Regions from separate parts of the Homo sapiens genome. Here all the other regions are linked to region 3. The links are contacts of gene promoters, found by promoter capture Hi-C in human tissues and cell types (Jung and others, 2019). All regions are on one chromosome and are shown on one strand. Each heading gives the region's core, a stretch centred on a gene start or on the middle of the fragment in contact. The rest is flanking DNA. Distances are from core to core; before and after follow the strand shown. Region 1 overlaps NT5M (5',3'-nucleotidase, mitochondrial). Region 2 has its middle 19 kb from the start of PEMT. Region 3 holds the start of MED9 (mediator complex subunit 9).

Region 1 (4,011 bases), core at 847-3,346, 140 kb after region 3:
TCTGCAGAAAGGGTTTGCGTGGGAAAATGATGTGCCACGATAGTGGTGACGAGATCCCGTACAGATGAAGAAATGGAGGCTCAGAGAGGGTCTGTGACTTATCAGGGGTCACATAAACGGCAAAACAAAGTGGGCTGTTTGTATTGAGTTGTGAGAGTAGTTAATGTATTCTAGAAACCAGTCCTTTATCAGACAATGCATTTTGCAAATATTTTTTCATGATCTGTGATTTGTCTTTTCATTTTCTGAACAGTGCCTTTTGAAGAGCAGAAGTTTTATACTTTTAGCTTTTATATGTATATATGTATTTATATGTATTTAACCCATTTGGGGTTAATTTTTTTTTTTCTTTTTTTTGAGACAGAGTCTTGCTGTCGCCCAGGCTGGAGTGCAATGGCACGATCTCGGCTCACTGCAACCTCCACCTCCCAGGTTCAAGTGATTCTCCTGCCCCAGCTTCCCAAGTAGCTGGGATCACAGGCGCCTGCCACCATGCCTGGCTAAGTTCTTTGTATTTTTAGTAGAAACGGGGTTTCACCACGTTGGCCAGGCTGGTCTCAAACTCCTGACCTTGTGATCCGCCCACCGTGGCCTCCCAAAGTGCTGGGATTACAGGCATGACCCACTGCACCCAGCCAGGGTTAAATTTTATATATGGTAAGAGGTAAAAATAGAAGAGGGCATGGGGTTCCCCCTGAGCCTCCTGGAGCCCAGCCATGAGCACTTATGTGGCCACTGCGCATAGATACCACCAGCTTCTCACGTGAGTATCTCTATCCCTCAGCAGGTTGTCTGGTCCCTGTGTGGTGACACAGGGATAAGGACAGCATCTACCTCGTGAGTGCCTTCGGGGATTTAGTGGAAAATTATGCATCAGAGTCTCAGTACTGCACCTGGCACACAGAAAGTCTTCAGAAAAAGGATTCTACCTTTTTGTCTTACCCTCAAAATTAGGCCCTAAGTCTGGTTCTGATACATACGAGCTGGGGACCTTGGGCAAGCCAGTGACTTCCACTGTGAGGTCAGTTTCCTCACAGTGTTGCTGGTATGATCAAATAAAAAACTGTGAGGACACCTGAGTAATGCCTGATACAGACGTACTAAATAAATGTAATTATTATAACTAGACTTTCATAGCCCCAAATCATCTACATAAAGCAACTAGAACTGTTAATTTGGCAAACTAACAGGATACAAGGTCAATATAAAAAAATCACATGTATTTTTGGAATAAAACTAGAAATCAATAATGAGGAATTCTGGAAACTATACAAACACAGAGACATTAAACAACATGCTCCTGAATGAAGTGGGTCAATGAAGAAATGAAGGAAATTGAAAAATTTATTGAAACACATGATAATGGAAGTACAACATACCAAAACCTATGGGATGCAGCAAAAGCAGTACTAAGAGGGAAGTTTATAGCTATAAGTGCCACATCAAAAAAGAAGAAAATGCTTCTGTGGGGGCCTGAATTTAAAAAAAATAAAAAAAGAAGAAGAAAAACTTCAAGTAAACAACTTAATGATGCATCCTAAAGAAACAGAAAAACAAGAGCAGGCCGGGCGCGGTGGCTCACACTGTAATCCCAGCACTTTGAGAGGCCAAGGCGGGCAGATCACAAGGTCAGGAGATCAAGACCAGCCTGGCCAACATGGTGAAACCCCATCTCTACTAAAAAAACAAAAATAAGCTGGGCATGGTGGCACCTACCTGTAGTCCCAGCTACTCGAGAGGCTAAGGCAGGAGAATCGCTTGAACCCAGGAGGCAGAGGTTGCAGTGAGCCGAGATTGTGCCACTGCACTCCAGCCTGGGCGACAGAGCAAGGCTCCATCTCAAAATTAAAAAAAAAAGAAAAGAAAGGAAAGAAAAGAAATAACAAAAATCAGAGCAGAAATAAATGAATATGAAATAAAAAAAATACAAAAGATTGGTTTTGTGAAAAGAAACAAAAAGTTGGTTTTTTGGAAAGGTAAACAAAATGACAAACCTTTAGCCAGACTAAGAAAAAAAGAGAGAAGACCCAAATAAATAAAATCAGAGATGACAAAGGAAACACTACAACTGATATTACAGAAATTTAAACAATCATCGGTGGCTACTATGGGCAACTACATGCCAATACATTAGAAAATCTAGAGGAAATGGACAAATTCCTAGATACATGCAATCTACCAAGATTGAACCATGAAGAAATTCAAAACAAACAGACCAATAACAAGTAACAACAACTGAAGCCATAATAAAAAGTCTCCCAGCAAAGAAAAGGCCGGGACCCAATAGCTTCACTGCTGAATTCTACCAAACACTTAAATAACTAATACCAATCCTACTTAAACTATTCAGAAATATACAGAAGGAAGGAATACTTCCAAACTCATTCTATGAAGCCAGTATCACCGTGATACCAAAACCAGACAAAAACACATTGAAAAAAAGAAAAGAAAACTATAGGCCAATATCATTGATAAATATTGATTCCTAAAATCCTCAACAAAAGATTAGCAAATTGAATTCAACAACACATTAAAAAGATCATCCAGCATGACCAAGTGGGACTTATCCCAGGGATTCCAGGATAGTTCAGCAAATGCAAATCAATTAATGTGATATATCATATCAACAGAATGAAGGACAAAAAACATATGATTATTTCAATTGGTGCTGAAAAGGTATTTGATAAAATTCAATATCCTTTCATGATAAAAACCCTCAAAAAACTGGGTATGGAAGGAACATACCTCAACATAATAAAAGCCATATATGACAGACCTATATATGGCTAGTATCATACTGAATGGGGAAAAACTGAAAGCCTTTCCTCTAAGACCGGGAACATGACAAGAATGCCTACTTTCACCACTGTGATTCAACATAGTACTGGAAGTCCTCGCTAGAGCAATCAGACAAGAGAAAGAAAGAAAGAGCATCCAAATTAGAAAGGATTAGAAGTCAAATTATCCTTGTTTGCAGATGACATGATCTTATATTTGGAAAAACCTAAAGATTCCACCAAAAAACTACTAGAACTGATAAAGTCAGCAAAGTTGCAGGATACAAAATCTGAAAAAAACAGGAACAATCCTGAAAAAAACAGGAACAATCTGAAAAAAAATTAAGAAAGGAATCCCATTTAAAATAGCTACAAATAAAATAAAATACCTAAGAATTAACCCAAGTGAAAGAGCTCTACACTGTAAACTATAAAACACTGATAGAATAAATTGAAGACACAAAAAGTGGAAAGATACTCATTCCATGTCCATGGATTAGAAGAATAAATATAGTTAAAATGTTCATACTACCCAAAGCAATTTACAGATTTAATGCAATCCCTATTAAAATACCAATGACAGGCCAGGTGCGGTGGCTCACGCCTGTAATCCTAGCACTTCGGGAGGCCGAGGCAGGCAGATCACGAGGTCAGGAAATCGAGACCATCCTGGCTAACACAGTGAAACCCCGTCTCTACTAAAAAATACAAAAAATTAGCTGGGCGTGGTGGCGGGCGCCTGTAGTCCCAGCTACTTGGGAGGCTGAGGCAGGAGAACGGTGTGAACCTGGGAGGTGGAGCTTGCAGTGAGCCGAGATCGCGCCACTGCACTCCAGCTTGGGTGACAGAGTAAGACTCCATCTCAAAAAAAAAAAAAAAAAATACCAATGACATTCTTCACAGAAATACAAAAAAAAAAAAAAAAAAAAAACCCTTAACATTTACATAGAACCACAAAAATTCCAGAATAGCCAGAGCTATCCTAAGCAAAAGGAACAAAACTGGAAAAATCACATTATCTGACTTTAAATGATACTACAAAGCTACAGTAGTCCAAATGGCATGTTACTGGCATAAAAACAGACACACAGATCAGTGGATAAGAATACAGAACCAGGCCAGGCGCAGTGGCTCATGCCTGAAATCCCAGCACTTTGGGAGGCCGAGGCGGGCGGATAGCGTGAGGTCAGGAGTTCAAGACCAGCCTGGCTAACGTGGTGAAACCCCATCTCTA
Region 2 (3,873 bases), core at 692-3,191, 130 kb before region 3:
AAACTGAGGCCTAAACACATTACACCTAGGGAATGACTAAACTGAGAAACAAACCCTATCTGACCAGAGCTCACGTTCTGGATGCTACTCTAGGCATTACCCCTCTAAGCCTGTTTCACTCTCTGCAGAATGAGAGTGGTAACAGTACTTACCTCTTCTGGCTGACTTGAGGGACCCATAATACAATGCCTGCCAGGCACTCCATTCAGTACCTGCCACACAGTAGTCACTTGGCACATGTTGGCTACTATTATCCTGTTCCCAGGCCCCAGGCTCATCCTTTGTTTCCATGTTTGGCTAAACGTCATCTGCCTGGGGCACGTCCTTCTTCCTCTGGCTATTTTTAATTCCATTTCCTCGGAATTCTGGATTCTATATGTGAGTATCAGTGGTTATTTTCAGATCATGTGGGAAGGCCAGGGGTTTAGGGAGATGTGGCAGCTTCTCAGATGAGAGTAACTAGGAATACTGTGTTTATTCTGCAGAACACACTGACCCTGTGCCTCTGCTGGGAGAGTGGCTCACTTTCCATCTCCTGGGGACAGAGTCCAGCTTCATCAGAGTGGCTGGGATGGTGTCTACTGGGAAAGGGCATGGGGACAAGGTGTGGTGGGTACCCCGAAGGCTTCCTGAGAAGCACCAGGACAGGGCAGCAGGCAAGGTGGGAGGGTGGGCAACAGACCCTTGGATGCTCTGCTGTTTTATCCTCACATACTCTCAGGTATGGGGAAAACCAGGTGTGGTAGCCTCGAGAAGACGGGCCTGGGCCCTCTTGGCCCTAGGAGAAAGGACTTTTGGCAGAAGCCCCAGATACAGGACTGGAAATCAAGGCAGACACTATTGGTTGCTTTCCTAATACCTATTCCCTTTGTGCTTAAAAAAAAAAAAAAGATTCATGTGGGGAAAAGCAAGAGAGATCAGATTGTTACTGTGTCTGTGTAGAAAGAAGTAGACATGGGAGACTCCATTTTGTTATGTACTAAGAAAAATTCTTCTGCCTTGAGATTCTATGACCTTACCCCCAACCCCGTGCTCTCTGAAACATGTGCTGTGTCAAACTCAGGGTTAAATGGATTAAGGGCGGTGCAAGATGTGCTTTGTTAAACAAATGCTTGAAGGCAGCATGCTCCTTAAGAGTCATCACCACTCCCTAATCTCAAGTACCCAGGGACACAAAAACTGCGGAAGGCCGCAGGGACCTCTGCCTAGGAAAGCCAGGTATTGTCCAAGGTTTCTCCCCATGTGACAGTCTGAAATATGGCCTCGTGGGAAGAGAAAGACCTGACCGTCCCCCAGCCCGACAGCAAGGGTCTGTGCTGAGGAGGATTAGTATAAGAGGAAGGCATGCCTCTTGCAGTTGAGACAAGAGGAAGGCATCTGTCTCCTGCCCGTCCCTGGGCAATGGAATGTCTCGGTATAAAACCCGATTGTATGCTCCATCTACTGAGATAGGGAAAAACCGCCTTAGGGCTGGAGGTGGGACCTGCGGGCAGCAATACTGCTTTGTAAAGCATTGAGATGTTTATGTGTATGCACATCTAAAAGCACAGCACTTAATCCTTTACCTTGTCTATGATGCAAAGACCTTTGTTCACGTGTTTGTCTGCTGACCCTCTCCCCACTATTGTTTTGTGACCCTGACACATCCCCCTCTCGGAGAAACACCCACGAATGATCAATAAATACTAAGGGAACTCAGAGGCTGGCGGGATCCTCCATATGCTGAACGCTGGTTCCCCGGGTCCCCTTATTTCTTTCTCTACACTTTGTCTCTGTGTCTTTTTCTTTCCTAAGTCTCTCGTTCCACCTTACGAGAAACACCCACAGGTGTGGAGGGGCAACCCACCCCTACAGATTCATTTGTGAATCAGTGTTCTAAGCCAATCATGACTGTTTTAACTTCCTAGCCTCTTGTACTAGACATTTGACCCAATTCAGGCCAATCACTCTTAAAGTGGAAGTCTGCTGGGGGGATTTCTGGAAAAGCTTTTGCTGCCCTGATGAAGAGACAGATACAGTTAGCATGGCCCTAGACATTTCTCTCACCTTTGCTTGCCTCGAGCCCCAGTGTGATGATTAGAGCTATGGCAGCCATCTTGTGCCTATGAGGCCGAAGCATCAGAATAAAAAGGTCAGTATAGGGATGGCAAAGTCAAGTTCCCTCATGCTTGCAACTGCCTGCTTCGAGCTTGTGTTCCATGAAAAACAAAAAAAAACAAAAAAACACACACACAACGAAACACCTATTTGTTTACGTCTCTGTTGATCGGATTTTCTGGGGGTTTTTTTTGTTATTTTTTGCAAGTGAATGTATTCGTAATCAACACAAACAAAGGAAGACAGGGCGCGGTGGCTCATGCCTGTAATTCCAGCACTTTGGGAGGTCAGATCACTTGAGCTCGGGAGTTCGAGACCAGCCTGGGCATCATAGCGAGACTCCCATCTCTATAAAAAAAAATAAGAATATTAGCTGTGCATGGTGGTGCATGCCTGTAGTCCCAGATGAGTTGGGAGAAGTGCTTGAGCCTAGGAGGTGGAGGCTATAGAGAGCTGTGACTGCACCACTGTATTCCAAGATGAGTTGGGAGAAGTGCTTGAGCCTAGGAGGTGGAGGCTATAGAGAGCTGTGACTGCACCACTGTATTCCAGCCTGGGCAACAGAGTGAGACCCGGGTCTCAAAAAAAAAAAACAACCATACCAAACACCATAAAGGCAGAATGATCTGGCCAATCAGGGGCATCACATGCTCAGAGATTTCCACAAATAGTTCCTCAAGATTGCTGCCTACCCAGCCCACTACTGGGCCTTTGTGACATCCGCAAATCAGGCCCAGGCCTTCCCCTCAAGGGGCTCACAGTCCATCAAGAAAAAGAACACAAATTTTGTAACTGGTACAAACTATCACACAACTCTCAGGGTGGAAGAAATCCCTTTACTTTTAAGGATCAAATTAAGGCCTACTCAAGGCCCCACTTGCCAAGGTTGGCAAAAACTACAAGAGTCTAATGGAGAATGGGGTGGGCGAGGAGGGTGGAATAATTAAGGATCAGCCCTGGATCTTAGGAGTTAAACAGCCCTGAAAAACTGAAGGGGAATTTTGTCTTTCACCTTGGACGTTCCTGCTGACCCACCAGTATTAGTTAAATAAAATTAGTTGCTGTAACAAGTAAAGCTCGAAGGCCCACGGCTCTACACGATGAAGATCTATTTCACATCTGTTTCATGTCACAGTCCAACCAGACGGGATGGCAGGCCGGGGAGGCTGCATAGTCACTCAAGCACCCAGGCTCCTTCCGTCTGTGGCTCTGCTGCCCTGTAGGCCTTCAGCGTCCTCTGGCTCAGCTAGGATACTACTGGGAAGGAGAGAGCCTGGGTGGTGCGAGAATTCCATGGCCAGGCCTGGAGTGGTGACATTACTTCCTATCACACTCCATTGGCTGGAACCTGTCATGTGGCCACACCTACCTGCAAGGGGCCCTGGGAAATGGAGTCTCCACATGTGCCCAGGAAGAAGCCAAAACATGGATATCCTGGGCACCACTTGGCCCTTCAGAGGTGGAAGGCAGCGAGGTGCCCACTTACCCTCCTGGGAGGCACCACCATCTCCCAGCTTGGATTCAAGGGAGGGCAGGTCTCCTCCCCTTGAGGAGCCCACAGGCCCCATGATCCATCCAGGGATTCAGCCAGACCGAGGGCTCCCTTCTTCATCTCTGCAAGCACCTGCCTACAGCTCCTCCTCACAGCCCAGCTGGCCAATGTCCTCCATGCACCTGCACCTTCCCGGCATAAAAACCTGAGCATGGGCCATCTCCAGAGCCCACCTAGGCCCGGGAATGCCCTCTAATGCCGAAACACACACACACAACTATATT
Region 3 (3,853 bases), core at 923-3,422:
CTGTTCTCTCTAGTATAACTTACTACTACATCTTTTAAGGCCAACCCAACCCAGCTGCTCTACCAGGGCTCAAGAATATACTCTTGGGGAGTTCAAGAGCTGTCCTTGTGAATGTGTACATTTTGTGTTTTCATTTTTCCACATTTTTCTTAAAACCAGTAAACTAGGGTTAATCAGAATAAACCCTTTATAATCCAGCACTGCCCTAGGATTACAGGGGCTCCATATGTATTTCTGTCTATGATCATTATCACAGGCTCACGAAAACTGAATAGGCTGCCTTATCCTATAAGCATTACTTTTTTTTTTTTTTTGAGGCAGAGTCTTGCTCTTGTTGCCCAGGCTGGAGTGCAATGGCATGATCTCGGCTCACTGCAACCTCCACCTCCCGGGTTCAAGTGATTCTCCTGCCTCAGCCTCCTGAGTAGCTGGGATTACAGGCAGCCGCCACCACACCCGGCTAATTTTTGTGTTTTTAGTAGAGATGGGGTTTTGCCATGTCGACGAGGCTGGTCTCAAACTCTGACCTCGTGATCCGCCCGCCTTGGCCTCCCAAAGTGCTGGGATTACAGGCATGAGACACCATGCCTGGCCCCTATAAACAGTATTTAAACACCAAGTGAAACCAAATGAAGCCAGGGTCTAATGTGAGAACAAAGCCTTTGTAGTTATTTGAAAAGTGGCAGAAGAGCATCAGGTCATCCCACAGCAAGTGAATCTAATTTGCTTAAACTCAAAAGTGGGTGGGCCACTAACAGTCAAGACCTTCACGTTGTAACAATTCCATTTCAGTAAAACAGTGAAGAGCACATTCATGTTCACCTGAATGTTACTGGAATCGTAATTTTCTTTTAATTTACTTTGTTTTGGTCTTTAATGGTTGAGTAAGAGTTACAAGCCTAGGGGTTTACACCTAGTATCACGTGGATATACAGTGAAGTAACATAATGAAAATAATTTACAGCCTGGGCAACATGGTGAAACTCCATCTCTACAAAAAATACAAAAATTCGCTGGGTGCCATGGCTCATGCCTGTGGTTCCGGTTACTTGGGAGGATGAGGTGGGAGGATGGCTTGAGGCCAGGAGGTTGAGGCTGCAGTGAGCCGAGATCACGCCACTGTACTCCAGTCTGGGTGACAGAGCGAGACCCTCTCTCAAAAAAAATAATAATTTAGGCAAACATAAGGATCAGTGAGACTTTTGTGTTTTTGTTTTTGGTTTTTCCTCTACAGAGTCACTTTGAAAACTCAGGCTACCCTGAAGGCTGGCCAAAAGGATGACAACAATTATTTCCTTTGGTACTGTTAGAACAAAGTCAGTACAAGTGGGTCTAATCATCTGAGGCAACTTCTGTGTTTCTGCTTAGTCTAATGTTTCCCATCGCCACCACTCCCGTCTCAATCTTTTTGAATTGTGGGTTATTCCCAATCATGTCTTTTTTTCCTTCTATCTAAACCTTTGGGGGTGAAAAGTTGGCCCCTTTTACTGCGTCCATCCCGTAGCACTTGGCACAGGGAAGATGATGCTTATCTGTTGAGTTTGCTGAACTAAGGAACTAAAGTGAGTATTACCAACATTAAAGGTGAGAAAACTGAGGCTTAAAGAGATTTAATTTGCTCAAGATCGCTGGGATGAACATTTGAGCCGCTGGACAAGAGTCTGCATTTAGTCTCTAAGCTGGCTTCATTCTTAAGGATATCGCACCTCTCGAGGCTCAAATCGTTTGCTTAACTCATGGAATGTCTCTGTGGTCTTGGGAAAGGCCTCTTCCCGCTCTGGGTCTGAGTTTCCCCATCTGTGAAACGGGGGCGTGCCCCAGAGCGCCAAGGCCTCTTGCAGCTCTGAAACGGCTGAGAGGAGAAGCTGGAGGGAGTATGGGGCCTGGTCCTCTCCTAGGTTCTTACCATTTGATGATGTTGTGAACCAAAGGTAAAAAGGAGTAGTTCTCTTCCTCCCTCGCGCGGGCAGGTGACTGAGGCCGTGGCGCCGGCGACTGCTGCGGTTGAGGCGCAGGGACCGGCGGCGGCTGAGGAGGCGGCAGCGGCTTGGTGTCAGGCAGCGGCTGGTCGGACGTTGGCGGCAATACATCCTCCGCCTGTCGCCCGGCTGCCACCCCAGCAGAGGCCATGGCTCCGGGGGTAGGTTAGCCAGAGGTCGGGTCGCCAAAAGCGTCGCGCACTCTACACGTCACCACCGCGCGCCCTGCAGGGGCGGGGTGTGGAGGAAGGCTCTGAGCGTGCGCACTGGGCAGTCGGCGGGAAAAGGCGCGGAGGCGGGGGTGGGGAGGCTGTTGCTAGGCAACGGGCCGTGGGTGGGTCTGGGGTGCCTGGATTTGGATTGTGAGTCAAGATTGCTAAATTATTAAATAGTGAGAAATAGGGGTTTATTTCAGAAATAACAATCTTTTTTTTTTTTTTGAGACGGAATTTCGCTCTTGTTGCCCAGGCTGGAGTGCAGTGGCGCGATCTCGGCTCACCGCAACCTCCGCCTCCCGGGTTCAAGCGATTCTCCTGCCTCAGCCTCCCTAGTAGCTGGGATTACAGGCATGCACCACCACGCCCGGCTAATTTTATATTTTTAGTAGAGACGGGGTTTCTCCATGTTGATCAGGCTGGTCTCGAACTCCCCACCTCAGGTGATCCGCCCGTCTCGGCCTCCCAAAGTGCTGGGATTACAGGCGTGAGCCACTGCACCCGGCCAGAAATAACAATCTTCTTATTCCTATTCACACGATGAAGAGGGCCCCAAAGCCACAAACACAGGAAGCCTTGAGATTAGTAAGGTGCAGCCTGGCCCAGTGCACCCAAGTCTGGAGAGGAGCCACTGGACCTGTGGGAGGCGTAGACAGCACTTACCTGCTGGGTGAGGCACCAAACCCGGCCCAGCCCACAGTGCAAGACATCGAGACCTCGAGTTTAGCCCTAAGGACGCAGAGGCAAAGGGATTGCGGTCCCTTCAATGCTGCAAGGTTGCTTAGAAAGAGTCTAATAATTCAACTCAACACACATTTAGTATGCACCTGCTGGATGGCCACCTGTATGTGTGGTTGCAGGCAGGCTGTCCTTGCTTTCAGTACAAGGTAGAGGGGATTGGTGCCAGGAGTAAATATCATATCCTGGAAGAACGACAAGGTCAGGTACTCTCCATACCTTCGGGCCAGTTCCCCAAGCCCCTAGGTCCCAGTTTCCTCACCCCTAAAATCATATTTAGTTCAGATTCATGGCACAGCCTAAACTGCATTCTAACTTCACATGCGTGGCTGACCCCAAAAGGTCTTGTTGGCATGAGGACTCCCTAGGATCATAGGCCAAAGATGGGTTTATGGTTATGCTTCTCAAAACAAGTTTGATATGAGGGCTGTGTAGTAATTTTCCGGGCAATGGGGACACCCACCCCAAGCTTAGCTAGTGAGTAGAAGACATGAGTGGGGAAAGCTGTCAACTGGTGAGCCCATTCTGCTGTAATCCACCATCATGGGCAGTACAGAGAGGCGAGGAGGTCCACATCCACATAGCATGATGAACAGGAGCCTTAAGAGCAAGGTGGCCAGGGAAAGGATCAATGCTGATATTTTCAGGCACATTGGGAGGGCTGTGCGGAGGCAGATCCTTGGGGAGTAGGACCATAGATGGAAGTGCTGTTGGAGGGTGCGCTGTACAGGTTCTGTAGTAAAGGGCCTCAGCACAGCTCTCTGCAGCAAGAGCTGCCCACGGTGCCCCAGAGAGAGAGCAAAGGGAGGGAGTGGGTTGCGGAGTTTTCTTCCTTCTAACCATTGACCTCTCCAACTAAGGGAAAGTTCAAGAGTTCTGGTTGAGCATGGAGGAGAAAAAGGCCAGATGTGCTTGAAGAGA

The links. The method cuts DNA at HindIII sites, captures the fragments that hold promoters and counts their contacts. A contact is called where the count stands out against the background at its distance.
Region 1: a fragment that was not itself captured here is called in contact with the fragment with the promoter of MED9 in region 3 in 1 of the 25 tissues and cell types used here (liver).
Region 2: a fragment that was not itself captured here is called in contact with the fragment with the promoter of MED9 in region 3 in 4 of the 25 tissues and cell types used here (IMR-90 fibroblasts, liver, lymphoblastoid cells and 1 more).

Annotation. Positions count from the first base shown.
Region 1 is chr17:17,338,375-17,342,385 of GRCh38, reverse strand. The region is part of intron 3 of NT5M (5',3'-nucleotidase, mitochondrial); the gene reads right to left. Among named protein-coding and RNA genes, the nearest start is that of NT5M, 37 kb to the right of the region's middle. The HindIII fragment of the contact is 7,733 bases long and covers 1-4,011 here.
Region 2 is chr17:17,608,908-17,612,780 of GRCh38, reverse strand. No RefSeq gene overlaps it. Among named protein-coding and RNA genes, the nearest start is that of PEMT, 19 kb to the right of the region's middle. The HindIII fragment of the contact is 8,912 bases long and covers 1-3,873 here.
Region 3 is chr17:17,475,319-17,479,171 of GRCh38, reverse strand. It overlaps MED9 (mediator complex subunit 9), which reads right to left and starts at 2,172. Exons shown (of 2, transcript NM_018019.3): 1 at 1,907-2,172. The coding sequence starts at 2,130. RefSeq lists an enhancer at 2,069-2,168. The HindIII fragment of the contact is 13,264 bases long and covers 1-3,853 here.